Linked DNA regions of Homo sapiens: region 1 is linked to region 2. Evidence: promoter capture Hi-C in 16 types of primary human blood cells and fetal thymus (Javierre and others, 2016). All regions are on one chromosome and are shown on one strand. The core of a region is centred on a gene start or on the middle of the fragment in contact, and the rest is flanking DNA. Distances in the headings are between cores, read along the strand shown. Region 1 overlaps BORCS5 (BLOC-1 related complex subunit 5). Region 2 holds the start of GPR19 (G protein-coupled receptor 19).

Region 1 (5,376 bases), core at 199-2,698, 260 kb before region 2:
GGTTTTTTATTTTCCTCAGATTTTGGGTATTCTTTTTGTATTTTAAATTTTAACTTGTGTTTGTTGTCATGAGGAGTCTTGGTTTTTGTATTGTTGAATTTATCAGTGTTTCCTTTATGGCTTTTGCATTATCCTGGTCCACTGTTAATGGCACAAAATCGTTCATTCCTTTTTCCATGGTGCCTCCTTCCTCTTTTCCTCTTTCAATTTCGGATTGACAGCAAAATGCTTTTGGTATCTTCTCCCAAGTTTGCGTTCCTGGAAATGTATTTCTTGTCAGTGATAGGGTAGCCCTTGATAGTTTTGTTAGGAGATTTTAGTGGTCTGTAGCATTCCCATTTTCTTGGTACAGGCACTCTGGGAAACTGACAGTTTCTTATAAAACTAAACATGCAATTACCATATGACCCAGCAATTGCATTCTTGGGCATTTATCCCAGAGAAATGAAAACTTATGTTTACACAAAAACCTGTACATGACTGCTCACAGCAGACTTGTTTGTAATAGCCCCAAACTGGAAACAGTCCAAATGTCCTCCAATGGGTGAATGGTTTAACAAACTCTGATACATATATACCATGGAATACTACTCAGAAATAAAAAAAGAATTAACCATTGATATATCAACAACATAGACACATCTCTAAAGTTTTATGTTGGGCAACTAAAAAGATTCAATCCTAAAAGCTTACATCATGTATTATTTCATTTATATAACACTTTTGAAAGGACAAAATTTTAGAAATGTTGAATGGATTAATGGTTGCCAGTGTTTTAAAGATGGAAAGGGGGATGAGAGAAAGAGTGGGGTAGGTATAGTTACAAAAGCAGCACAAGAACTCTTTGTGGTGATGGAACTTTTCAGCATCTGACCATGGTGATGAATACATGAACTTGTGTATAGGAAAAAAAACTAAATACAGACACAAATCAGTGCAAATAAAATGAGGAAATCTGGGCTGGGCACAGTGGCTCATGCCTGTAATCCCAGCACTTTGGAAGGCTGAGGCAGCTGGATCACCTTAGGTCAAGAGTTTGAGATCAGCCTGGCCAACATGGTGAAACCCTGTCTCTACTAAAAAATGCAAAAATTAGGCAGGAATGGTGGCACATGCCTGTAATCCCAGCTACTCAGGGGCCTTGTTCAATTGCTTGAACAAGGTTTCAGTGAGCTGAGGAGATCATTCCACTGTGCTCCAGCCTGGAAGACAGAGCGAGACTGTGTCTCAAAAAAAAAAAAAAAAAAAAAAAAAAGGAAATCTGCCCGGGTGCAGCGGCATACTCCTGTAGTCCCAGCTACTTGGGAAGCCAAGGTGGGAGGATCTCTTGAGCTTAGGAGTTTGAGGCCAGCCTCAGCAACAGAGGGAGATACCATCTCTAAACCAAAAAAGGGAGGGATGGGTAGGATCTGAATAAGGTCAGATTATATCTATGTCAATATCCTGGTTGTGATATTGTACCATAGTTTTACAAGATGTTTCCATTGAGGGAAATTGGGTAAAGGGGACACGGGATCCTATACATAGGATCTCAATAAAAATTTCAATTAAAAAATTCCCAATTTCTGCTAATACTGGATTCACCAAAACATACTGCCTGGAAGCAGGTTCAGGTCAAGTAACTGGTGCTCTCCTGTGTTAGGACTTGTAGTGCAGCAGCTGAGCAGTGGAATGTGGAGGAGCCTAGCAGTGCCTCGGGTTCCAGCCCTGTATGCTGCTCTGTCTCAGAAGATCTGAGAGCATCGACCAGCATTTCCCAGGATTCTCTGGGACAACCTAGCTGGGTAGCCCTTCATACAGCCTGTCTGGAGGGAGAGAATACTGGCTTCAGCTCTAATATATCAGAACAGTGTGGTGTGGATGTTGGTGGTTGGGGACAGTGAGGGGTGGACATTGGTGGTTGGGGTCGGTGAGGAAGGGTTCCCAAGATGAGCTTTGGCCAGGTGAGGTGGCTTACACTGAGGCGGGAGGATCGCTTGAGCCCAGAAGTTCGAGACCAACCTGGGCAGCAAAACCCTGTCTCTACTAAAAATACAAAAACTAGCTGGCTGTGGTAACAAGTGCCTGTGGCCTCAGCTACTCTGGAGGCTGAGGTAGGAAGATTGCTTGGGTCCAGGAGGTCGAGGTTGCAGTGAGCTAAGATCACGCCACTGCACTCCAGATGGGCAACAGAGCAAGACTCTGTCTCAAAAAAAAAAAAAAAAAAAAAAAGCTTTGCTGTGCCCTGCACGTGACCTACTGTCATATGTATTCTGTGTTCCTTGTGCTGTAGCATTGGCTCTGCTGTGAGACAGAATGGTCTGGCATGTGGTAGGGCGATCACTGGGATCCCCAAGACCCTGCTAGGGAATCTCTGAGGTCAAAACTATGTTTGTAATAATACTTAGACATTATTTGCAAAACATGCTCATTCTCTTACAGAAGTGTCCAGTGGAGTTTTCCAGAGGCTAAATGATGTGAAATAGCAACAGATTAAATGCAGAAGCAGCTATGATATTCCAGCTGTTTTCTATTAAGGCAGACATTAAAAAGACATTAATAAAAATAAACCAGTGGCATCATTTCACTTTTTTGGTTTGGAAGAATATTTTCCTTAAAATGTTATTTTTGTTAATGTATAAAGGGGTTATCATTATATTTAAATGATTTAATATTTAAGAATGTTCTCAGTTTTAATTTTTATAGGTGAATATCAAAAGATAAAACTCACATAAAAGCTCTTTGGGGTCCTTGGTAATTTTTGAGAGTGTAGAGGTTCTGATAATTGAGAACTGTTGATTTGGCAGAAAGCAATAGGCTTAATTTCTAGACTGGGCTTTGCTTTGTGAATGTGGGCATCATTTGGCCTCTTCAATTGATTTCTTCTCCTGCAAATGCTATTAATTGCCCTGCTACATACCTATAAAAATATAATCCCCTATGCAAATACAGGGGAGATTAATGGTTACCTGGCTAAGCTGGTGTTGAAAGAAAATGTAAAGAATGAGTTTCTGGCCTGTTAGCTGACAGTCTGTTTACTTGTTAAATGTCTCCATTTTAGCATCTCCTAGCAGTTTCTGTATACATTTGATTTCTTTTTCTCAGTTTTTCAGACAACCATTTTAATTATTTTTAAAAATTATATTCCCACATTTTCAATTAATAAGGGATTTATATTCCTAGTACCTTGAAGTGATGTGATAAGGTCAGGAGCTCTGTTCTTGGAGAAACCACTTACTAGCTATGTGACGTTTGGAAAGTTACTTAACTTCTCTGTGTCTTGGCTTCCTCCTGTGTAAATGGAGCTAATAATACCTCACTTTCCAGGGCAGCTGTGAATACGAAAAATCGTGCACAAGAAGCACTTAGCAAAAGTGCTTGGCACATAACAGATGCCCCATAAATAATAATTGCAACGATTGTCATTAACATATAACAAAAGATGCAAGATTAAATTGAAGTCTTACCCTGTCTTCAGTGAACTTGTTAAACTACTTTATTCACAAGTTTATTAGCAGTAATTTTAATTTCATTTCATTTTTTTCTCCTTTGAAGGGCTATTGAGTGGCCAGACTTCCCCAACAAATGCCAAATTGGAGAAACTGGACTCTCAGCAGGTGTTGCAGCTCTGCCTCCGATATCAAGATCACCTGCATCAGTGTGCAGAGGCCGTTGCTTTTGACCAGAATGCTTTGGTTAAACGAATCAAAGAGGTAATGTGCTGCGGGAAAATAACATTGCTGACTGGTTGTTGTGATTCTCTGCAACTCTGGATGCCATCTTAAGACTTGACATTTGTCACTATTGCTTTGAGGAGATTGCTTTTTCCCAGCAGTAAAATGTGATGATGAAAAAAGTGGTCCACAGAGCTGGGCTAATTTAGAGTTTGAATTCTGATCACCACTGATTTGCTTGGCCAAGTTGCTTAACTTCTCTGTCTCAGTTTCCTCATGTGAAAAATGGGGCTAATAGTAGTAACTTACCCCAAGGGTTGAGTGACAGATTGCTTAGTAAGTGTTAGCTATTATTAGTGCATGTAAAGTCCTGCCATACTAATTTGCTCTAGCCACCATTCTGTCTTTGAATTGACTTTAATTGTTTCCTGTGTATAATTTATATTTTGTTTCCCAGTAGATTAAAATTTCTTTCAAAGCAGGAGCTTTGATACGAAAAGCTCCAGTGATTCTTAATGGTTTTATGGAAACAATTACGCCTATTTAACCCGCAAAGTTTTTAAAGGAAAGAAGCAATGTAATTCATGTGAAAGTACTTAGTAAACTGAAGCACATGATGCAAATGTTGTGTAATTATCAATCTCAGTAAATAGGTACTTCCTTTAAGCACTTAAATGTATCATTGACCAGCTGCTGCACAGCACAGTTCTAGGGGCATAAAGGAATAAGTAAGTACATTTTCCAAAGTTTCCAGTCAAGAAAAACTTTATATTCCTGATACCTTGATGTACTGTAATATCAAGGAAATGTTAGGAGCTGTTTACTGGAGAAACCACTTCTGTGAATGGCACTCCCAGATTTGTTTAACAAAGTGGCCCTTTAACTCTGGTGAGAGAAGATGGACATGGAGAAACAAGTGATGGAGCAAGAATCACTGCAGATTAACAATTTGTATTTAGCAATGGAGGTAGTGTATCCTTGAGATTACAAAGCAGTCATTAGTTATATTGACAGATTTAAATTTGCCAACACCTCCAACATTTTAGTGCTTAGCTTTCATAAAATGTTGCATGCATATACTCTTCTCTCATGGGTTAAATACTATTATTTGGAAAACTATTAAACATGACCTTTGATATTGCTTTTCATTGATGTGGCTTTGCAAATATTATAAACTTATTTTACTATATTATGGTCTACCAAGCTTTACTTTCCAAACATGACTATTCATTGGCATCATGTGAGTTTTTTGTTTGTTTTAATACTGAGTTCTCCCCTCCTCCCAGTAAGTCTAGGTGTGGTCTGTGAATCATTATTTTAATAAGATGTTATGGTTTGGCTGTGTCCCTACCCAAATCTCCTCTTGAATTGTAGCTTCCATAATTCCCACATGTCATGGGAGGGACCCAGTGGGAGGTAATTGAGTCATGGGGGCAGGTCTTTCCCATGCTGTTCGCATGATAGTGAATAAGTCTCATGAGACCTGATAGTTTTGTAAAGGGGAGTTCCCCTACACAAGCTCTCTTGCCTGCCGCCATGTAAGATGTGACTTTGCTCCTCATTCACTTTTAGCTGTGATTGTGATGCCTCCCCAGCCATGTGGAACTGTGAGTCAACTAAACCTCTTTCCTTTATAAATTACCCAGTCTTGGATATGTCTTTATTAGCAATGTGAGAACAGACTAATACATAAGTTTACCAAATGATACAATGCCACCCTCTA
Region 2 (5,603 bases), core at 3,104-5,603:
GGCTGGTTCTTCTCTTATCCCTGAATTAAAACTTGGGTGGTCCCATTACTTTTTCTGGTCATTTTTAGTTAAGAGATGTTAATAACTAAAATATCCAGTCCTATATAACAATCAAAAGTTGGCACCTGACTTAGTTTAGGCATTTCTCCCTCCTCCCAGTTTGTGCCTTCTGTAGTAGATTTAACAAAACAGTGTGGCCACTTCTCTTTTTTCCTGACTTGTTTCCTTAGATCTTGCCCCTCCTAGTTTCTGATCCCTCCAGGGTTTGAGAGGAGGATGAGCAATACGTCTTACTTTGTTGGTACTAACATGAGCTGCCATCAGTTTCCCTGTACCTCACAGGTATTAAAGACTGATTCCTTATCTCAATGGGCACTTACGTGGGTTTAGGGGGACAAAACTCTACTTCTATGAATTTTTCAACTATAGCTCCTTTGACCAGCTGGCCACTTATCTAACTCCAGAAAGACCTTTAGCTTTTCCCTGCTGAAGTCTATTCCTCTCTTTGAGTGGTCATCTTGGTCAGGTCCAGTGATGACTCGCTGCTGGCTTCTCTTGTCTTTTTTTTTGTAATATTAGCCAGGTTAATGGCGGGGTTTTGCCATGTTGCCCAGACCGGTCTTGAACTCCTGGGCTTAAGCGATCCTTCTGCTTTGGTCTCCCAAAGTGCTAGGATTACAGGCGTGAGCTACTGCGCCTGACTCAAATTTAATTTCTTGTACCCCAAAAAGAGGCAGAAAGAAAGACGGACTGGATACCCTCATTTATAGAACCAGAACCCCATACTGGTACAATATGAAAGTTTCTGAAAAAGGTCCAACAGGTATTTGATATCCACAAAGCACAAAAGACCTAATTATAGTTGTTTTTTTTGTTTTTTTTTTTCTCCAACTGGGCTTAAGCCCCTTTCTCCTTTGCTTTCTGAGCAAAAGTACTACTGGCCTCCAGCAGCTGAAAAAGCCCTTAAGAAACTGAAGCATTACTTGTCTTTGGCTCTAGTCCTGGCTCACTCTAACCCATAAAAACCTTTAAAGACAGAGACCAATCTGTCTAGCATTCCTATCGGTCCCAGGAAGATTCTCTGTCACTCATGTGTGCCTGCTTTTCAAGAAAAGGAACCCAATTAAAGACAGGTAACTTCATGTGGCAAAAGATATTCTTGGCCATTATCACTACCTTTTTTGTCTTATATTCAATAACTAAAGTAGTATGGTGATTTCAACTTCTGAGTTATTTATAAACCTAGAAACCAGAATTGTCCTACTAGCAAGTAACTTGTCTCTTAGAAGCTGAAATTGCTGACCATGCCACTTGTATTCCAAGTGATTCTGTGTTCCCTGAAAGGCTACAAAGACAGGCTTGAACCTCACCTTTCTCATCTGTTAATAATAACAAAACCACTTGTGTGGTCAGAGCTGCCACATCAACCCTGATAGGCTACCGGAAAACACTTCATTATCAATGCCCTGCTGCACATGCATTCCCATGTACAGCAGCCTCTCATTGGAAAAGAACACACATTTCAATCATGCCTTGATGCCCTCCCCAACCAATGAGGTATTGCAGGTTGTAAAGATCCGCCCCAACCCACTACTGCCATCAGCCCTGCTGATGGCCCAAGATTCACCATGTGTAATGCAATAAAGACATCATTATCTGTGTTGCCTGTGCTAGATCAAAAGACCAGCTTGGGAGACTGACACTCTTCTATCTCTACAGCTAAGCCTGTGTATCCTGGCAATTATACTAATGGCTTTATCAATGACCTTTCCCAAATTAGTACGTTAACCCCATTCTTATCACAGTGGCCTTCCTCCTGAATAGAGCTCATGATGCCCTACTTATCTGCCTGTCTCAAGCTCTAAACTTCATTCCTCCAAACGTGTTTTCCAAAACGGAGTCTTGCTCTATCACCTAGGCTGGAGTGCAGTGGCACGATCTCGGCTGACCGCAACCTCTGCCTCCTGGGTTTAAGCAATTCTCCTGCCTCAGCCTCCGGAGTAGTTGGGATTACAAGCGCGTGCCACCACACCCAGCTAATTTTTGTATTTTTAGTAGAGATGGGGTTTCACCATGTTGGCCAGGCTGGTCTCAAGCTCCTGACCTCGTGATCCCCCCGCCTCCGCCTCCCAAAGTGCTGGGATTACAGACGTGAGCCACCGTGCCTGGCCCTAGAGGGAACTCTTAAAGCAGTGGCTCTCAACCTTTGTTGCAAAATGGAGGGTTTTAAGAAAGTACTGATGTCTGGGCTCCACTCGCAGAGATTCTGATTTAATTGGTATAGAGAAAAGCCAGGGCATTAGGATTTTTTTAAGCTCCCAAGGTGATTCTAATGTGTGGGCATGGTAGAGTACCTGTCTTTTTTTTTTTTTTTTTTTTTTTTTTTTGAGACGGAGTCTCGCTCTGTCGCCCAGGCTGGAGTGCAGTGGCGTGATCTCGGTTCACTGCAAGCTCTGCCTCCCGGGTTCACGCCATTCTCCTGCCTCAGCCTCTGGAGTAGCTGGGTCTACAGGTGCCCACCACCACGCCCGGCTAATTTTTTGTATTTTTTTTTTTTTAGTAGAGACGGGGTTTCACCGTATTTGCCAGGATGGTCTCGATCTCCTGACGTTGTGATCCGACCGCCTCAGCCTCCCAAAGTGCTGAGATTACAGGCGTGAGCTACCGCGCCTGACCCGGTAGAGTACCTGTCTTAAAGCTCCCTAAATACAGACGGACCTACGATGCACAGAGCATCCACAATTCAACTGATAGGTGGCATGTACTTTACACTAAGTTCTATGCTACCTCATTTTGTCATTACAATAATCCTATGGCACAGGCACTATTATCCTTATTTTATAAATTGAGAAACTGAGATTCAGACAGGACACACAGAGTGACTGGCAGACCCTAAAGTCAAAGCCCAGGTCTGATTCCCAATTGTACACACTTTATATGACATCATATCGAGATGTCATGCCTCTCAGAGCTGGATGATCCCACTCCCTAAAACAAGACACCCAGGCTTCAACCCTGAAATCCTATTCCATTGCCTCCATGGATTTTTCCTGCAGCATTTTCCTATGCACTTCACACATACAGCGCAGCTGCCAGGATATACTTTAGGCTGCCAAAATGAAATGAAGTCACTTTCTTGGTAAGTGATTACCATGCCTGGCTCTTTACTGAAGTACTTCCATTCTATATATTCACACTGGGATCCTTCTCCATCACTGCTAGCTTCAATCCTGTGGCTTTCCATATTTAGTTTTTCTTACAGATGAAGTGATACTCTTTACCTATCAGCCATTCCTTTGTTGGAGTAAAATTACGTATTCCATCAGCATTCTTCTGCCTTGTACTCCAGATAGTATACAAAGAATCAAATTATAGTAGCTAAGTGGCATAGAATTGCTGCCGATATCAAGATGGACTCTAATATCTAGTGAACTGGGAGGCTAGAGGCTAGAAGTATGTACTTCTGTAAGGTGTCAGTGACACATCTGAGTAATGTGGTAGCTAAATGCCACCATTTCATTCCATGAAATCCACATTTCATTCTGGCTAAAGGGTAAAGCTGGTGAGAGGTGGGAGGGGCCAGGAGGCTCCATCGGAAGGAGGCAGACACTTCAGGTGTTGGGTGGTACCTTTAAGATGTTGCGGGGCCAAATCCAATGCCGGTGCAGGTGTCCCATATATCCTGAGAGACAAAAAGAGGTCAGATTGGTCAGATCCCTCGAGACAGTTCCCAAATTCCTGACTTCTGTTACCGCGACTGTTCTTCGCAATTCCACCTCGGCCTGTGTTCAGGACTGTGGCTTTTAGAATCTTCCTCATTCCATTCCATTAGGGGCGTCCCGATTTCCACCTTATATACACCATGTACTAAATGCATGCCATTTCTGCCTGTTTACAAACATGCATAAGTTCACACTCTTTTAAGAAAAATGTCCTCTACTGTCAACTTCTTTCTAGTCTGGCCTCCCAGGTAGGCTACAGAGCTACTGCCTTCATTTATCTCTCAAATCTTCCCATCTTCTCCTTCCCACTGTATTACCTTAGCTCACACTCACATCCTCTTGGTCACCAGCCAAAAAATAAATAAAACTCCTTTGTCCCTTCAGATTTCTCTCTTATTCTACAACCTCATTAATCGGCTCTCCCGCTCCCACTCCTTTACTACTTCAGTCGCTGAAACCTCCCCTCACAGAGTTCACGGCCAATATAAAAACGGAAAGAAGGGATGACCATACGAGCTTGTGGACTTTTGCCTGCAAAATCTCATAGAATGTGGTGTTGTGTACGTGAATCCATCAGATCAACGCGACGGACACTCCCCAAGGGCCAAATCGGACCGCCTCTCACTAGGCGGAAAGTTTTGAAACTTTTGCGCGCTAAAAATGATGAGCCAGACGCATGCGCAAACGTGCACTCCCGGGGTGGCGCTTCTCCTCAGGCAGATCTCGCGTGGTTTGGTGATGGCCGGCTAGTATGAAGGTTTTCCGTGGCGTTGAGATCCCACCCGCCCTTTTTTTTTTTTTTTTTTTTTTTTTTTTTTTTTTTTGCTGCCCCAGTGGATTAGGATTAGTGCTGCAGTCAAATGAAAAAGATCAAGACAAAAAATTAGGCTAATATAACTAGCCGACAGGCTAGCGGCATTTCTCTGGGGCCGAGGAATTCCACGAAGAAGATCTCTGCGAGGCCCAGAAGGCCGCACAACTACTTCTTCAGAAACAAAATTTTTTAAAAAAGTAAAAATAGAGGAAGTCAGCCAGTTTATCACCTTGGAACCAGCGTTTTGTTTGGCTTTTCCGCTTTTCACTCTACGAAAAAGCCCATTGGCGGCTACCCAGGTTACCGTCCTGTTGCCATTGCGCCTGCGCGGCGGTTTGTTTACCAGTCCAGGCGAAGCGCTGTGTCGCGGTTCTCGCCGCCCCGAGCGCCTTGGTTTGCTCCCTTGACGTGTAATTCGTAATGAAAGTCATGTTTTCATTTGGGAACACGGATCGGAGGTTTAAAACTGGACAGTTTAAGTGTCAACTTCAGACCAAAGAAAATAATGGTAGGGAAAACACTGGACACTCAGAAATCGGTGCCGCGTCAGAGCTGTCACGGAAGATGTTTCTAATGAACCTGAGGAAAACAATAGCACCACCCTAACCAGAACTAAAAAGTGGCAAGCAGCCACAGTTAATGAAACTCATAGGTGGCATTTAGTTACTTATTTAGAATGTAGGCCTAGTTATGGTAAAAATGCAAATAAGACCAAACCTAAGGTCCTCTTGCTCGAGCAAACCTCAAGCAAAACCTACATGATTTAAGACTGACTCTTGAAGCGAAGTAAAAAAAAAAAAAAAAAAAAAAAAGCAGCCATGCAAAATTTGAAACTTGGAGACGACTCTAGAAGCATTAACCCAAGAAAGCACAAGCCAACAAACAAATTTTTGAAATGGTTTGAAGAGCTCTTCAAAGTCAGTTTCAGGTGGCTTAGAAGAGGATGTTGCTTATAAAATGAGATCTGATGGAAACTTGTTTTACAGATATGACTGGATTCGTTTGAAAACAAAAAAAAAGGCAGGCAAAGTGACTTTTTAAAAAGTATTTTTATGGAAGGATTTCTA

What was found. Contacts are between HindIII fragments. The CHiCAGO score rates a contact against its expected background, and 5 or more counts as called.
Region 1: a fragment that was not itself captured here is called in contact with the fragment with the promoter of GPR19 in region 2 in 6 of 17 cell types (total CD8 T cells, non-activated CD4 T cells, total CD4 T cells and 3 more); the score reaches 11.7 in total CD8 T cells.

The regions. Positions count from the first base shown.
Region 1 is chr12:12,432,094-12,437,469 of GRCh38, forward strand. BORCS5 (BLOC-1 related complex subunit 5) reads left to right here. Exons shown (of 4, transcript NM_058169.6): 3 at 3,535-3,692. Among named protein-coding and RNA genes, the nearest start is that of BORCS5, 78 kb to the left of the region's middle. RefSeq lists a silencer at 322-616. The HindIII fragment of the contact is 1,524 bases long and covers 687-2,210 here.
Region 2 is chr12:12,691,830-12,697,432 of GRCh38, forward strand. It overlaps GPR19 (G protein-coupled receptor 19), which reads right to left and starts at 4,354. Exons shown (of 4, transcript NM_006143.3): 1 at 4,236-4,354; 2 at 3,630-3,682. RefSeq lists enhancers at 4,102-4,261, 4,442-4,521. The HindIII fragment of the contact is 8,608 bases long and covers 1-5,603 here.